Regions from separate parts of the Homo sapiens genome. Here regions 1, 3 and 4 are each linked to region 2. Evidence: promoter capture Hi-C in 16 types of primary human blood cells and fetal thymus (Javierre and others, 2016). All regions are on one chromosome and are shown on one strand. The core of a region is centred on a gene start or on the middle of the fragment in contact, and the rest is flanking DNA. Distances in the headings are between cores, read along the strand shown.

Region 1 (3,231 bases), core at 711-3,210, 150 kb before region 2:
TTTGACTTGCTTTTTAATATATTTATAGATATAAAATTAGGCCTCTAACAGTGATAGGGACAGGGAGATTGCTGCCACCAAACAATGTTTCTTAAAAAAATAACAGAAGAGGTAATATCCTTCCTATTCTTCCTTCACTTCTGCCCCTCCTCCCACCTCTTCCCAGCCTCCCTCACCTGACCTATTTAGGGGGTGATGGGATGAAGAGAAGAGAGTGAAGGATATGTAATCAAGTGCAAAATACTGTGGTAAGTACAGAGAATGAATAAGGTGGAAAGGAAAGTGAAGAGTGTGGGATGGTTAGGGGCTTTAAGGACTTCCCAGGAAAATAGGATTCTGGGATGGGGTTGCTGGGGGTGGGGGGGGAGCCAACTGTCATAAACTTTTAAAAAACAAAGGAAGAAAAGGTCAAAAACCTAAACCAAAGAGAGAGTGGCACTCCTACCCTCCACTCTGGCCCCTTGGTACTGAATAGCCAGTTGTTCCCCCCACCCCTCCCCCAGCCCAAGAAACAAGGGAGATTAAAGAAAAAGAAACCCCATTCCCTATCCCAAACCAGTTAACAAAATAGGCTTCCCTCTCCTCTCAAAAAGAGGCTTTGGGGAGAGGCCATTTCTGCCGAGTCCTATGCACCTCTCCATAGAGCCCCATTCCAGGGCTCAACTCCCATTCCTAGGTACTCTTTGTTGGTTCACTCCTCTGGTTTGTCCTTCTCCTGGGATGTCTTTCTTTTATCTAAAGCAAAAAGTCCAAAGTGCGTTTCTGCTGAATGTAGGGCCTGGGACAGGAAAGGGTTGCCCAGGCAGGATCAGGTTGGCAGCCCCAGCCTGCCCCACCTAGGTATGAGGCCTCAAGATGGCATGCACTGCACCCGGTCAGGGCCCTCCTCCTCGTCCGATGTGTCTGAGGAGCTGGGAGACTCATCAGAGTCCGCGTCTGTGGCCCCAACCCCAGGTTCTCGCCAGCGCTGTGGATGGGAAAGGCTTGTTAGTAACTTCCCTGGATGGAACAAGGACAAGCCTGTTAGGTCTTAGCCAGAATTTAGATGCTTTAGGCCAGAGATCAGCAGAATTTTTCTTAAAGGGCCAGAGAGTAAATACTTTAGACTTGTGGTCTATATGGTCTTTATTGCAACTATTCAACTCATTGTAGCGTGAAGGCCGCCACAGACAATACACAGAATGGGTATGGCTGCAAGCCAATGAAACTTTATTTACAAAAACCAGCAGCAGGCCAACTGCCAGTTTGCCAACCCCTGAACTAGGCCTCTTTTGGCATAAGAGGAAAAATAGAAGGGTCACACTGAGACTTGTTATTTCTTCTCAATTCCCTCCTCCACCCTCCAGCTTTTGCCTTTATGAAGATAGCATTACACATGGACGGCAATGGACAAAAGTAGATACCACCCTTTTCTGCTGATGTCTCTTCCAAGGCTATATCAGGGATCTGATGGGGACAGAGGACAGTGGATAGGAAATCCGACCAAGATCACCTGATTACTGCTTGAAGTCACTACTCTGGAACTTTTTAGCCCTCTTAAAAGGGTCACTCCCTTGGGAATTCATTTCCAACCCTAGCTTACCCGGTGATGGCGTCTCTGTCTCAGGTGATGCATAAGGAACCACAGCATGTGACTATCAAACAGGTCAGTTTGGTGCAAGCTATCTTCATCCCGCTCCCGCTTGTTCTTCTTAATCACCTGGAACCCAAAAAGGTTGGGAAGAGGGGGCAGCAATGAAGAGGAACCCGGGACCTGATCAAGAAGGCTGATCTCCTATCCCAATAAAAGCTTCCCTTAAGTTGAAGTGGAGCTACATTAGATTAGGAAATGATGCCCTAGGTTCAGCTGCTGAAAAGGTAGCAGGCTTTAATACAGAATAATTCTTAAAGATGCTCCTTATCCCCATCCTATTACAAATTAGTGCCACTTCACAGCTGCCCCCTGGAGCAGGACTATTCCTACAGAGGAAATTACAGGAATGTGGGGGAGGGTGTTAGAGCAGTGCCTTTAAAGAACTGGGCAGCAAGTTATTCCTCCCTATGACAATAAGAATCAACAGTATGTGGATAAGCAGAAAGAAAATAACTTCTGCAGTCAGCCACTTACATCTTTTAACCCTGTCAGCTCAGTGGAAGCTTCAGCTGTGGGTGCCCAGATCTTCACATCATGGTCTAGGCCACTGGTTGCCAGCACAGGCAGGTGAGGGTGGGGCTCAAGACAGTTTACCTGGTCAGGAAGAAAGGAAAACACAGACTCAGCAGTGTGTGGGAGTAGGGTTTAAAAACCACTACTCACCTTGAGCCAAATAACTGCCCTTGATCAGGGCTGAGGCAGCTGCTGGGGAAGGGAGGCCCACCCATCCTGAGCCTAAGCCAAAGGGCACTGAGGGTAGAGAAACCAGACACAGACTGGGTATAAGACCAGGCACATCAATCATTTCCTATGTATAGGTCGGGGGTGGCTTCATCCCCAGATATGGCCCTAGGGGTGGGTGAGTGGACTGCCCAAGCTTACTGCTGGCTTCGTAAGAAGACAATGAAATCCAGATGACCTCATTCACTCCAGATTCCAAAGCTCCAACTTGCCCAAGGCTGGAAAAAACCATCTCAGTGGCTTTCACCAAGTGGCAAATAAATTTTAAAAAATGAAGAAAGCAGCAGCTGCCAATGAACCCCCAGAGAAGAGTCGGAGAACTATATTCATTTGGCAGTGTTTACTAGAACTGGAGGAAGGCACAGGCTGAGAAGAGGAGGCTGAGTTGCAGGGAGTGGTGGGAGTGATGGAGGCTCATGTCTGCTTGAGAGAACCTTGCACATCCCAGGGGGAACATCCTACTACTTGCCCTGAGCACAACAGGCTCAGCTATAAGGCAGCACATTAAAACCAAGCAGCTTCTTGGGGCTCCCAAAGCCTCAATCTCAGCCACCCTCTGGGTAAATTCACTGAACAAGGCAAAAGAAATAAACTCCAGCAGGCAGGCCTTCTAGCTTAGGCAGCTTCCTTCTGTCCGAAAGGCACCCAATGCCCCCTGCTGTCTGACTTGGAAACATGAGCTTCCCTAAGGGAAGGGCAGGGAAGTTCCTACCCCATCCAGAAGAGTTAGTTCCAGATCTAGCTGCTAAAGCATTTTGAGTCTTTTAGTGAAAAGAGGAACACATAGGAAAGGCACCCTGCCTTGCAGCTGGACCTATAGTCCAAGAAAACAACTTCTTTTAGTTCTCTCTGGACCA
Region 2 (3,582 bases), core at 723-3,222:
TGTGTCTTCCCATTTCCCTATGTCTTTCCCATGTCTGTTACCCAATGACTCTGGTTTCTCATTTTTTTCTCTCCCTGAGTCTCGGTATCTTCCCGTGTCTTTCTCGTCGTTTCCCTCCGCTTCCCCTGTCTCTGTTCATCTCCCCTTCTTTCTGTATCTCTCATCTCCCCCATGGCACTCTCTCCTGAGTCTCTTGGTCTCCCAATTTCTTGGATGGGGTGGAGGGCAGGAGAGTGGAGGAGGTAGAATTGTTGTTGCTGGGGGCTCATTAGGTGGAGATTGGTTTTTAATCAGCACCATGGCAATGATGATGCAAGAACTGAGATGCCACCTGATCCCCTGCCCCCCAGCCCCCCTCCTCAAGCCTCCTTTCCCCTCCAGCTCAGCCCATCTGCTGGCGCCTGGGCACCTGTCTGGGCCTGCCCAGGTGGGAGTTGGCACCTCCCAGACTCAGGGATGGGGGCAGGTGGGGGAGCTTGGGGAGGAATTATGGGACCCCCTTAGGGAATGCTTCACCCTGGAGAAAGCCCAGAAAAGGTTGACCAGCAACAGGGAAATGGCAAGTCCCTCCAGCCTGAAGGTGGGATGTGCTCCTACTAAGCTCTAGGCCCACTACACATATTATCTCCCTTAATTTCCATGGCAACCTAAGAAGCAGCTATAATCAACCCCATTTTACAGGAAAAGAGGTCCAGGCTCAAAAGGTTGTTATTTGTCCAAGGTCACACAGCTGACAGAGCCTTTTTCACTGTACCACACTACCTCTGGAGTCCTCTCCAGTCATGGTTCTTTTGAATACTCTCAAAGGTTCAGAGAAGACATCCAACAGCTGAGTGGGGAGAGAACTTCAGACACTGAAACCCTCTATGCACTGTCTCTCTATGCACTCTGGTCCCTGTGCTGCCCCTCCTCAATCCTGCCACTCGGCAACACACACATACACACACACACTCACACTTACATTCACATTCACACACACTTGCATATACATGCTGGAGGCTGCTGAGCTATTGATGGGAGCTTAATCAGTGCCCATTTGCATATAATTTTGTGTCTGGTTTTCTTATTGCTGATTTGATGCCCTCAAAACACACTCAGAGCCTGCCTAGGCTGCCCTGCCCTCCTCTCCCAGTGTCCTTCCAATCCTGGTTCTTCCTGTCTTGGCACTCCTCCACTCCTCTCCTTTTAGCCCTTACCTCTTTCTTCCTAAGAGCCCTCTAATTCCCAGTGGGTCAGGTTGGGCTGGCCAGCCTAGAAAAACTCCTTGTGGGGTCTGTGTCCCAAATTTGATCCTGCTCCTCCCCTTGGTGATGGGTTAGGTAGGAAGATAGCGGGTGGGGTAAGAGGGTATGGGGGTGATTGAGTCCCAGGGTGATGAGGGTAGGGGCCTGAACAGTTGCTACAGGCAGGCTGGCAAGCAGTGGGTACCAGCTTTATGAAGGATAAGAGCTTGAGGGCCAGGACCCTAGGGTCCTCTTCTGCATTTTAGTGCTACCCACTTGCTCTTTTCTCGGTTTCCCTGTTAGTACCTTGAAGAGTCTCCCTCTCAGGAAAAAAGAGACACCAGGAAGGGGCTGTCCAAGTCACGCTGGGACTCCGAATGGGGCCATGGCACTTAACCATAGCTTGCTGGGAGCCTCTGCCCTGCTGCCTCTGGTGTGGGAGACTGAGGGGGTTCATCTGTGGTCCTGCCCTGGCTCTCGCCCCAGCCCCACCCCTTCCCCAGCTCTCCATTTCTTGCTTATGAAATATGCATGGAGAACAGATGTCCCTGCTCCCCCGCTCCCCGCCCCCACCCAGGGCCAGCCCCCGCCCCCAGCTCCCGAGGGGTTCCCAGATCCCTCTGCCAATGGCTGCCTGGCCTGGCTGTTTAATATTGATGAGGGGGGGGTGGGCCTGGGCCAGCCAATGGAGAGCTGGGGGTGTGTGTGTGTATCTCCATATATATACATAGGGCTGGGCCAGCTCAGGTGTGTGTGTCTGAGGGTGTGTGTGTGAGTGTGGCTGGCCCCAGTACCTGGCCAAGCCCACCACTTCCACCTGGGCCCTACACCCCCACAATGTGTACCCCTCTTATCTGCCCTGGAGCCTGTACAGCCATGCCACGCTACCCCTGAGAGTCTAGAAAGCTGGTCACTAACTTTGCAGACGGATGAGCCTTGAGCACCCAGAGGAGACTGGGGCTGTCAACGCTGCCCCTTGTCCTGCCGGCTTGGATCCCCTGACAGGGTCCTTCTAGGTAAAGGGGAAACCATGGGCGGGGAGGGATGGGCGTGTCCCTCCCATTCTCTGGCTCAAGCCCCTTCCTAGAGCCTCCCTCTAGTTCTCTCCCTTGTGCGCTGTGTCTCTCCCTGTCTCCGCGTGTCCCTCTTCTCCACTCCTCCCCTTCGACTCTTTGTGCCTATCTATCCTCAGTTGGGTTAGGGCTGGCAGAAGTGGGGTGGGAAGTCCTGTCCTGCAGGCTTGGAATTGCTGCTCCCCTGATCCTTGGACCCTGGAACTTTGAGACCAGAAGTGGATTTGGGGGTGAGGACTTGATGGGTAAATAGAAGCTGCTGCCGGGACTGGAACTGGGGAGGACAATGGGGCCAGGTGGAGATGAGACTGGGGCCAGATGGGGAGCACGGAGAGGGGAAGGAAGGGCATGGCAAAGTGATGAGGGATGAAGGAACATAGGGACCGGGCAGAGAGAATTAGCCTGTGATAGATGTGATAAATGTGTTGGGAACTCCGCAGCTGAACTCCTGCTCCCAGCCCCAGCATGGGGGGTGGGGAGTTGGGGGCACTAAACATGTACTGGGAGGTGCTGACTTTGGGGCCTCCCACACTATTGCCATCCCCCCATAGTTCATTTGAACCCCAGAATATGGAATGTGTTCTCAATTTCAGCACTAACCACCTTCTGTTTCCTGTTAAGATTGTGTGTGTACTTGTCATCAGATGTGGATGACTTTGCATCCCTCCAGAGCTTCATAGCTGTTTGTTGGCTTGACTTGAACCTATCTTCTGTGTGGTGGGGTGGGGCAAGGCTTGGGAGGATCCTAACCCCTTTGAGAGTATCTATCAGACAGGAAAGCCAGGGCTGGGGAGGAAGGGGAGATAGTGATGGTGCAGGCACCTTGGTGCTTCTGTTTCTAATCATTCTTAGTTGAGCTGATGGTGAGTGGCCCACTGTTCCCCTTTAACACTGCACACAAGCAAAGCCCTTTCCCCAGCTTTTCCCAGGCCATGTTTGTGCTGCCTTGCCCTGATCTCCTCTGGTCCTAGGACAAGCAAACCTTAGCTGAGTCCCATAAGGGTAGCTCCAAAAATCTGTCTGTGTCCTCTGCAGGCCGTGTCTGAACCTTCCTTGGGCTATGGGAGAGTATGGGGGTAGAAGGTTGATTATGTTCCCTTTCCCCAATCTTCCTTGCCCAGCCTCCAAAAGGGCCAGGGAATGGCAAGGGCTGAAAATTTCGAAGACAGAGGTGGAGGAAGAGGCTGGTTGTGCACAGTGGGGTGGTGGTGAGAAGAGATATCTTCCCCTGGTTTTAGTGGACAGGATCTCATATCTACAATGGTTCTGCTGGGAAGGTTTGGGGA
Region 3 (3,055 bases), core at 386-2,885, 220 kb after region 2:
TGTTTGAAGTCTGAGATTGAAGAGATTGGTATTTCTGGACAGAAATAAAAACCCAGAAAGGAACCAAATGAAAGTTCTAAATTGGTTCCAGCATTTAGGTTTGCAACAAGAAAACATATACTAGTTTTATTCTTGTTCTTTAACTTTTCCATCTGGAAACACTTAAGATTTTCCCTTTATCACAGAAATTCAAGATTTTACAAGGATGTGTCCTGGTGTGTTTGCATGGCATATTTCTGGCTGGAATCAGTTGTATTTTCAGTCTGATGGTTCAAATCTTTCTTTATCAAAGGGAATTTTTCTTCTGTGTCTTTGATTATGGCTTCCTTTTTGGCCTTTCTACTTGCTCTTCCTAAAAGTCCTCCTAAATATTTAAAGCTATCCTCTATATTGCTGAATTAATATCTCCTGATTTTCTCTTTGTCTTCTTGCTTTACATACTGATAGAGTTCCTTATAGACACCCTATAGAATGTCTTCCAAACATGGGTTCTCAGCTATGTTTACAGTTTTCAGCTATTTGCTTGAGTTTTAAACTTTGGTAATACGCTTTCATTTCCAAGTCTTTTCATAGTCTTCAGTTGTACCTGATTCATAATTATCTTTAATTCCATGTTGAAAAATTCTCTATACTAGATAAAGGGTAAATTAAAAAACAAAACATAAGAATAAAACTCTGGAAAACAACTATAACTGAAAGAAAAGAGAAGAAAGAAAGAATTATTAAAGCAATAGGAGGAAAACAGGAGAGTTGATGTCATGAAAGCAAAACAACGAAGGGTTTGAATAAGAGAAATATGAAAACATTTTTAATTCTGCAAATAATTAAAAGGGAAATGAAAGAGTACATGCAATTTTTGTAGTGTCAAGCAAAGTTTAGGCTCTGAACAAGCAATACAAAAAACCAAATAGCATAAAAAGACTCCAAAAACGTTTGCCTCTGTGACCAAAGCTTTGAGCTTTACAATAAAACCATCAGGATGAATAAGCTAACTACTCTGATTTGATCACTATAAATTATATATATCAAGACATCACTATGTAACTCATGAATATGTACAATTATTATTTGTCAATTTAAAAAATTAATTAAATCTTTAAAAAAGAAGATTACACACTCTCAAGTGTTGGAGTCACAAAACTTGAGTTTCAAATTCAGTTTTCCTACTTATTGAGTGGAATACTTGTATTAATATCAGGTGGTCAAGTTGAATACTTGTCTCAATATCAGGTGGTCAAGTTGAATAACCTGTGAATTCTTTTTTTTTTTTTTTTTTTGACAGAGTTTTCGCTCTTGTTGCCCAATGCAATGGCACAGTCTCGGCTCGCTGCAACCTCTGCCTCCCAGGTTCAAGTGATTCTCCTGCCTCAGCCACTCGAGTAGCTGGGATTACAGGTGCACACCACCATGCCCAGCTGATTTGTGTATTTTTAGTAGAGACAGGGTTTCACCATATTGGCCAGGATGGTCTTGAACTCCTGACCTCAGGTGATCCACCTGCCTCGGCCTCCCAAAGTGCTGGGATTACAGGCATGAGCCACCCCGCCCGGCCTGATTTCTTATCTAAAGTTTATTTAGGATAATTGAATGGGAAAACAAATTTAAACTAACTAATACAGGAATCATCAAAATACAGCCTTTCTGCTGCCTGTTTCTGAATGTAAAGTTTTGTTTGTTTGTTTGTTTTTGAGACCGAGTCTCACTCTGTAGCTCAGGCTGGAGTGCAGTGGCGTGATCTCGACTCACTGCAACCTCTGCCTCCTGAGTTCAAGCGATTCTCCTGTTTCAGCCACCCGAGTAGCTGGAATTACAGGCATGCACCACCACACCCAGCTAATTTTTGTATTTTTAGTAGTGACAGAGTTTCACCATGTTGTCCAGGCTGGTCTGGAACTCCTGACCTCAGGTGATCCACCCACCTCGGCATCCCAAAGTGCTGGGATCACAGGCGTGAGCCACCGCGCCCAGCGTATAAATGTAAAGTTTTATCGGAACATTAAAAAAAAAACAAAAAACAAAACCGAAAAAACAAAAAAAAACCTGTCATGAGAAAAGTGAAGGGAGGAAACCACAGTTTAGATGAGAACCAATATAAAGTTATAAGATGGCACTGTGATGCAAGTAAATGAAGGCTTGGGAGAAAAGGGGAAGGATCACTGCCCCCACCCCTCAACTGTGCCACCCTGATCAGGTTTCTTAACTGTTCTAAGTGTTGTTTTCCTCATCCGTAAAATAAGAATTGCCATATTAGCGTGTTAAGTTTGTTTTGAGTATTAAATGAGAATGTCTGAAAACACTTAGCAAAGTGCTTGGCACATTATAAGCTTTTAATAAATGTTCATTCTTAATAGTATTATCACTAATAGGTTAATTATAATACACCATTTGGACATTAATGATCTGGAAAACTATCCACCAGAGGGCAACAGATTGTAAAAGACTGGGCACGGAACAATAAGACAGACAAAATTATGATTTATTGAGTACTAGGTTTGTTTCCAGGGCTATGTTCAACACTTCCATATGACAAACAGTGAAAGAATTGGGATTCATTGGCCCGGAAAAGAGAAAACCTAGTGAGGGGGCTGTGATTAAGGCATCATGTGGATCAGTGTGATAATTACAGCCAGGTATTTGAAATGCTGGTGTTTGGTGTCAAGGGGTCTCCATGGACAGAACTAGTAAACCATAAATGTTGCTCCAGGAAAGTAGAGCATTTCAACCTACAGATTTCCCCCTAACAATTGTCATCCCGGAATCAACAGTTAAAGCCAAGACTGGATGGACCTTTGACATATATGTTATTGTGGGAATTTCTCATTGTGTAGTTGAATCTTGAATGTCCAAAAACAAACACGGTCTCGCTCTGTTGTTCAGGCTGGAGTGCACTGGCATGATCTCGGCTCACTGGAACCTCTGCCTCCTGATTCAGGCGATTCTCCTGCCTCAGCTTCCTGAGTAGCTGGGATTACAGATGTGCACCACCACATCCGGCTAATTTTTGCATTGTTAGTAGAGATGGGGTTTCGCCGTGTTGGCCAGGCTAGTCCTGAAC
Region 4 (3,288 bases), core at 789-3,288, 240 kb before region 2:
GGGTGGAGACCGCGTCCCTGCTGACCTCCGGATCATCTCTTCTCATGGCTGTAAGGTGAGGAGGTCATACCAGAGCAAGCAGTTGAGTCTAAGGAGAAGGCTGTGTGCAGAGCTGAGAGGGGCCCAGTGAGGTTTAAAGGTGGAGAGACCCAGGTCCAAATGTCAACACCATGCCTATGCCCCTGCTAAACCTTCTCTCAGTGTGGGGTGCTTGTGCAGTGCCTCCTTGCATCTGTGTGTTATGAATGCTCTATGCCCCAGGTATTTCTTTGTTGTCCACTTTTTAGCAATCATGTATTGAATACCAATTATGTGTCAGCTGCTTTATATATGTTCGATGTGCTATCTGATGTAATTCTGAAAGAGTGGTGTAATCATGCAGGGCTGCTGAATGTGGCCACACACGTTGCATCCTGAATGACCCCAGGAGGTGCATTTTCATAACTACAGTGTTAGTGTCTCCCCCTGTGGTTGTGCAAGGCAGAGATTCTGTTTACATTCACCATTTTACAGTTGAGTACATGGAGGCTCTCTTGGTTAAGCAAGTAACCCGAGGTCACATAAGAAGTCAGGAGGAGTCAGAATTCCAAACCAGGGCAGGGGCAATAGATGAGTAATGCCATAAATATGTGATGAGGGCAAGTGTGACTTTGTTCCTCGTGTCATGAAGATTGAGTGTGGTTGGAGGTGGTTCAGGAGACAGCTGTGTGCATACAAGTGGCTCTGCCAGTCTGATGACTATGCACTCCTTCCTCCTCAGGTGGATAACTCATCCTTAACAGGAGAGTCGGAGCCCCAGACCCGCTCCCCCGAGTTCACCCATGAGAACCCCCTGGAGACCCGCAATATCTGTTTCTTCTCCACCAACTGTGTTGAAGGTGAGAAGCCAGGCTGCCCCCTGTAGGAAAGAGTCTGAATCCTGAATCCATAGTCAGGATGAAGGGCTCTGGTAGTACTTACCTGGCAAAAGCTCTGCCATTGGTGGGGCAATTGAGGGGTCAGGGGGCCCTGAATATTATGGAAACACCCTCCACAGAGCAGGGTATTGACTGAGGGCAGCCTGACTCCATGGGAAATGTATCTCCCTTCCCCAGGGAGATCTCTGTTCTGTCCACCCCAAGACTGAGTGGATTTCAAAGCTTTCAGGTATTGGGTTAAGAACCCCTTACGCATGCGCACACACAGATGCACATACGCTCAGAACCAACCTGGATTCTTAGGAGTCTTTGGATTTGATTGATGCTTCTATTCCTTGTGGTTCTGGGCCTCGCTGCCCCCTTCGATAACCTTTGCTTTGGCCAGGGCCCCAGGGTCTGGGAGGGCCAAGAAGGCATTCTGGCCAGGTGAACACTTGGGGCCTACTTCAGGCTGCTTCTAACCTTTGTTACATCAAAAGACATGTTTCACCATGCACAGACTACCCAGTTTGCCCCATCCCTGTTCTGGGTTCTAGAGATAAACAAAGGTCAATAAGAACTCCCAGAGCTGCCATCACTTAATGGCAGGGGTCCAAGCACAACTGAAACCTGTGCCCTCTGTGGTAAAGCCAGTGAGCAGAGTCAGGGCTGCATCAGAGAAGGAGTAGGAGGGAAGAGACAGAAAGAGGCCTCACTAGACCAGTGGCCTCTGAAAATAGGGCAAAGGAGGCCTCATATCCCAATCCACACTTCCCCTGTCCATTACTCATTTCTCCTCAGTGTATTATGTTTCTCTGTGGTTTTTTTCCCTTCTTCGACAAGTTGGAATTCCACTGCTTGGAATCCATGAGGGATTGGTTCCAGGACCCCCTTCGTTACCAAAATCTAAGGATCCTCAAAGGCCCTGATATGAAATCGCATAATATTTGCATATAATCTGCGCACATCCTCCCATATACTTTGAATCAACTCTAGATTACTTATAATACCGAGTGCAATGTAATTTTTATACTGTTTTGTTTTTAAATTTGTATTATTTTTATTGTTGTATTGTTATTTTTATTTAGCTCCAAATATTTTCGATCTGAGGTTGGTTGAATCTATGGACATGGAATCTGTGAATATGGAGGGCCAACTGTACAAATAAAAATCACCACACATTACATTTCCTAAGTTTGTTTTTTGTTTTGCTTTTGAGACAAGATCTTGCTTTGTCACCCAGACTGGAGTGCAGTGGTGCAATCACAGCTCACTGCAGCCTTGACCTCCCAGGCTCAAGCGATCTCCCACCTCAGCCTCCAGAGTATTTGGGACTACAGGCGCGTGATACCACACCCAGCTAATATATATATATGTATATTAGAGATGGGGTCTCACTATGTTACCCAGGCTGGCCTCAAACTCCTGGGCTCAAGTGATCCTCCTGCCTCAGCCTCCCAAAGTGCTGGGATTACAGGCATGAGCCACCGAGCCTGGCCAAATTTCCTAAATTTTTAATGTACTGAGATTTTGAAATTTACATTTCCCACAATTGATTTATTCAGAAATGCCTAGTAATACATTCCTATTGCTTACTCTGCAATTGGCTTTGAAAAGAGGAAAGGAAATAAATGAGATATTTGTTGAGCACCCGCTATGTTCCAGGCACTGGCCTAAGTATATTAAAGCACAATCTCATCTAAATATTAAAACAGCACCGAGATAGGAATTCAAATAAGGATTCAAACCCAAATTTGGCTGGCTCCAATGTGCATGCTTTTTTCAATACACCACCCTTCCTTCCCAGAAGACCCCTGTAATGTCACACAAGGGTTAGCAATTGCCTGGCTTCCTCTATAGAGATTCATGCCTAATGTTGAGAAAGAAAATCTTAAGACTGGATGGAAAATCCATAATGAGTGCTTTACTTTGTGTTCATAATATACTTTTGGATGGTATCAAGTATGGGAATGATTTTACCAAAATGCCACAGGCAATTTTTATTTATTGAATCTTGTCTATTTGAACTTTGAGATTATTTGCAAGCTTCTCCCCAGGCTCGAGTACAAGAGAAAATAATTTGCTGTTGTATTGATTCAAGGATTGGCGATCTATCCAGGGAAAGGAAGGCCAAGTGGGGACAACCTACTGAATGTGGCCTCCAGATCTGCGGCTTTGGCTCACCTATCCTGTGATGATTTTCCTTGCTCAGGAAATAGGATGGGACTGCAGTCCCTGGGAGCCACAAGGCACCCAACCTGATGCCCCACCATGTTGCAGGCACTGCCAGGGGCATTGTGATTGCCACAGGAGACCGGACGGTGATGGGCCGCATAGCTACTCTCGCCTCAGGCCTGGAGGTTGGGCGGACACCCATAGCAATGGAGATTGA

Evidence for each region. The method cuts DNA at HindIII sites, captures the fragments that hold promoters and counts their contacts. A CHiCAGO score of 5 or more calls a contact.
Region 1: a contact is called between a fragment that was not itself captured here and the fragment with the promoter of NHLH1 in region 2, in 1 of 17 cell types (erythroblasts). The highest score is 5.5, in erythroblasts.
Region 3: a contact is called between a fragment that was not itself captured here and the fragment with the promoter of NHLH1 in region 2, in 6 of 17 cell types (total B cells, naive B cells, naive CD4 T cells and 3 more). The highest score is 8.4, in total B cells.
Region 4: a fragment that was not itself captured here is called in contact with the fragment with the promoter of NHLH1 in region 2 in 1 of 17 cell types (erythroblasts); the score reaches 5.9 in erythroblasts.

What each region holds. Positions count from the first base shown.
Region 1 is chr1:160,216,742-160,219,972 of GRCh38, forward strand. It overlaps DCAF8 (DDB1 and CUL4 associated factor 8), which reads right to left. Exons shown (of 14, transcript NM_015726.4): 12 at 2,108-2,227; 13 at 1,583-1,699; 14 at 1-967. The coding sequence ends at 851. Among named protein-coding and RNA genes, the nearest start is that of PEA15-AS1, 9.5 kb to the left of the region's middle. The HindIII fragment of the contact is 347 bases long and covers 1,788-2,134 here.
Region 2 is chr1:160,365,099-160,368,680 of GRCh38, forward strand. NHLH1 (nescient helix-loop-helix 1) reads left to right here and starts at 1,973. Exons shown (of 2, transcript NM_005598.4): 1 at 1,973-2,239. The HindIII fragment of the contact is 14,453 bases long and covers 1-3,582 here.
Region 3 is chr1:160,585,468-160,588,522 of GRCh38, forward strand. No RefSeq gene overlaps it. Among named protein-coding and RNA genes, the nearest start is that of CD84, 7.5 kb to the left of the region's middle. The HindIII fragment of the contact is 1,373 bases long and covers 950-2,322 here.
Region 4 is chr1:160,124,376-160,127,663 of GRCh38, forward strand. ATP1A2 (ATPase Na+/K+ transporting subunit alpha 2) reads left to right here. Exons shown (of 23, transcript NM_000702.4): 6 at 1-55; 7 at 761-878; 8 at 3,177-3,288. Among named protein-coding and RNA genes, the nearest start is that of ATP1A2, 10 kb to the left of the region's middle. RefSeq lists an enhancer at 1-1,021. The HindIII fragment of the contact is 1,803 bases long and covers 1,138-2,940 here.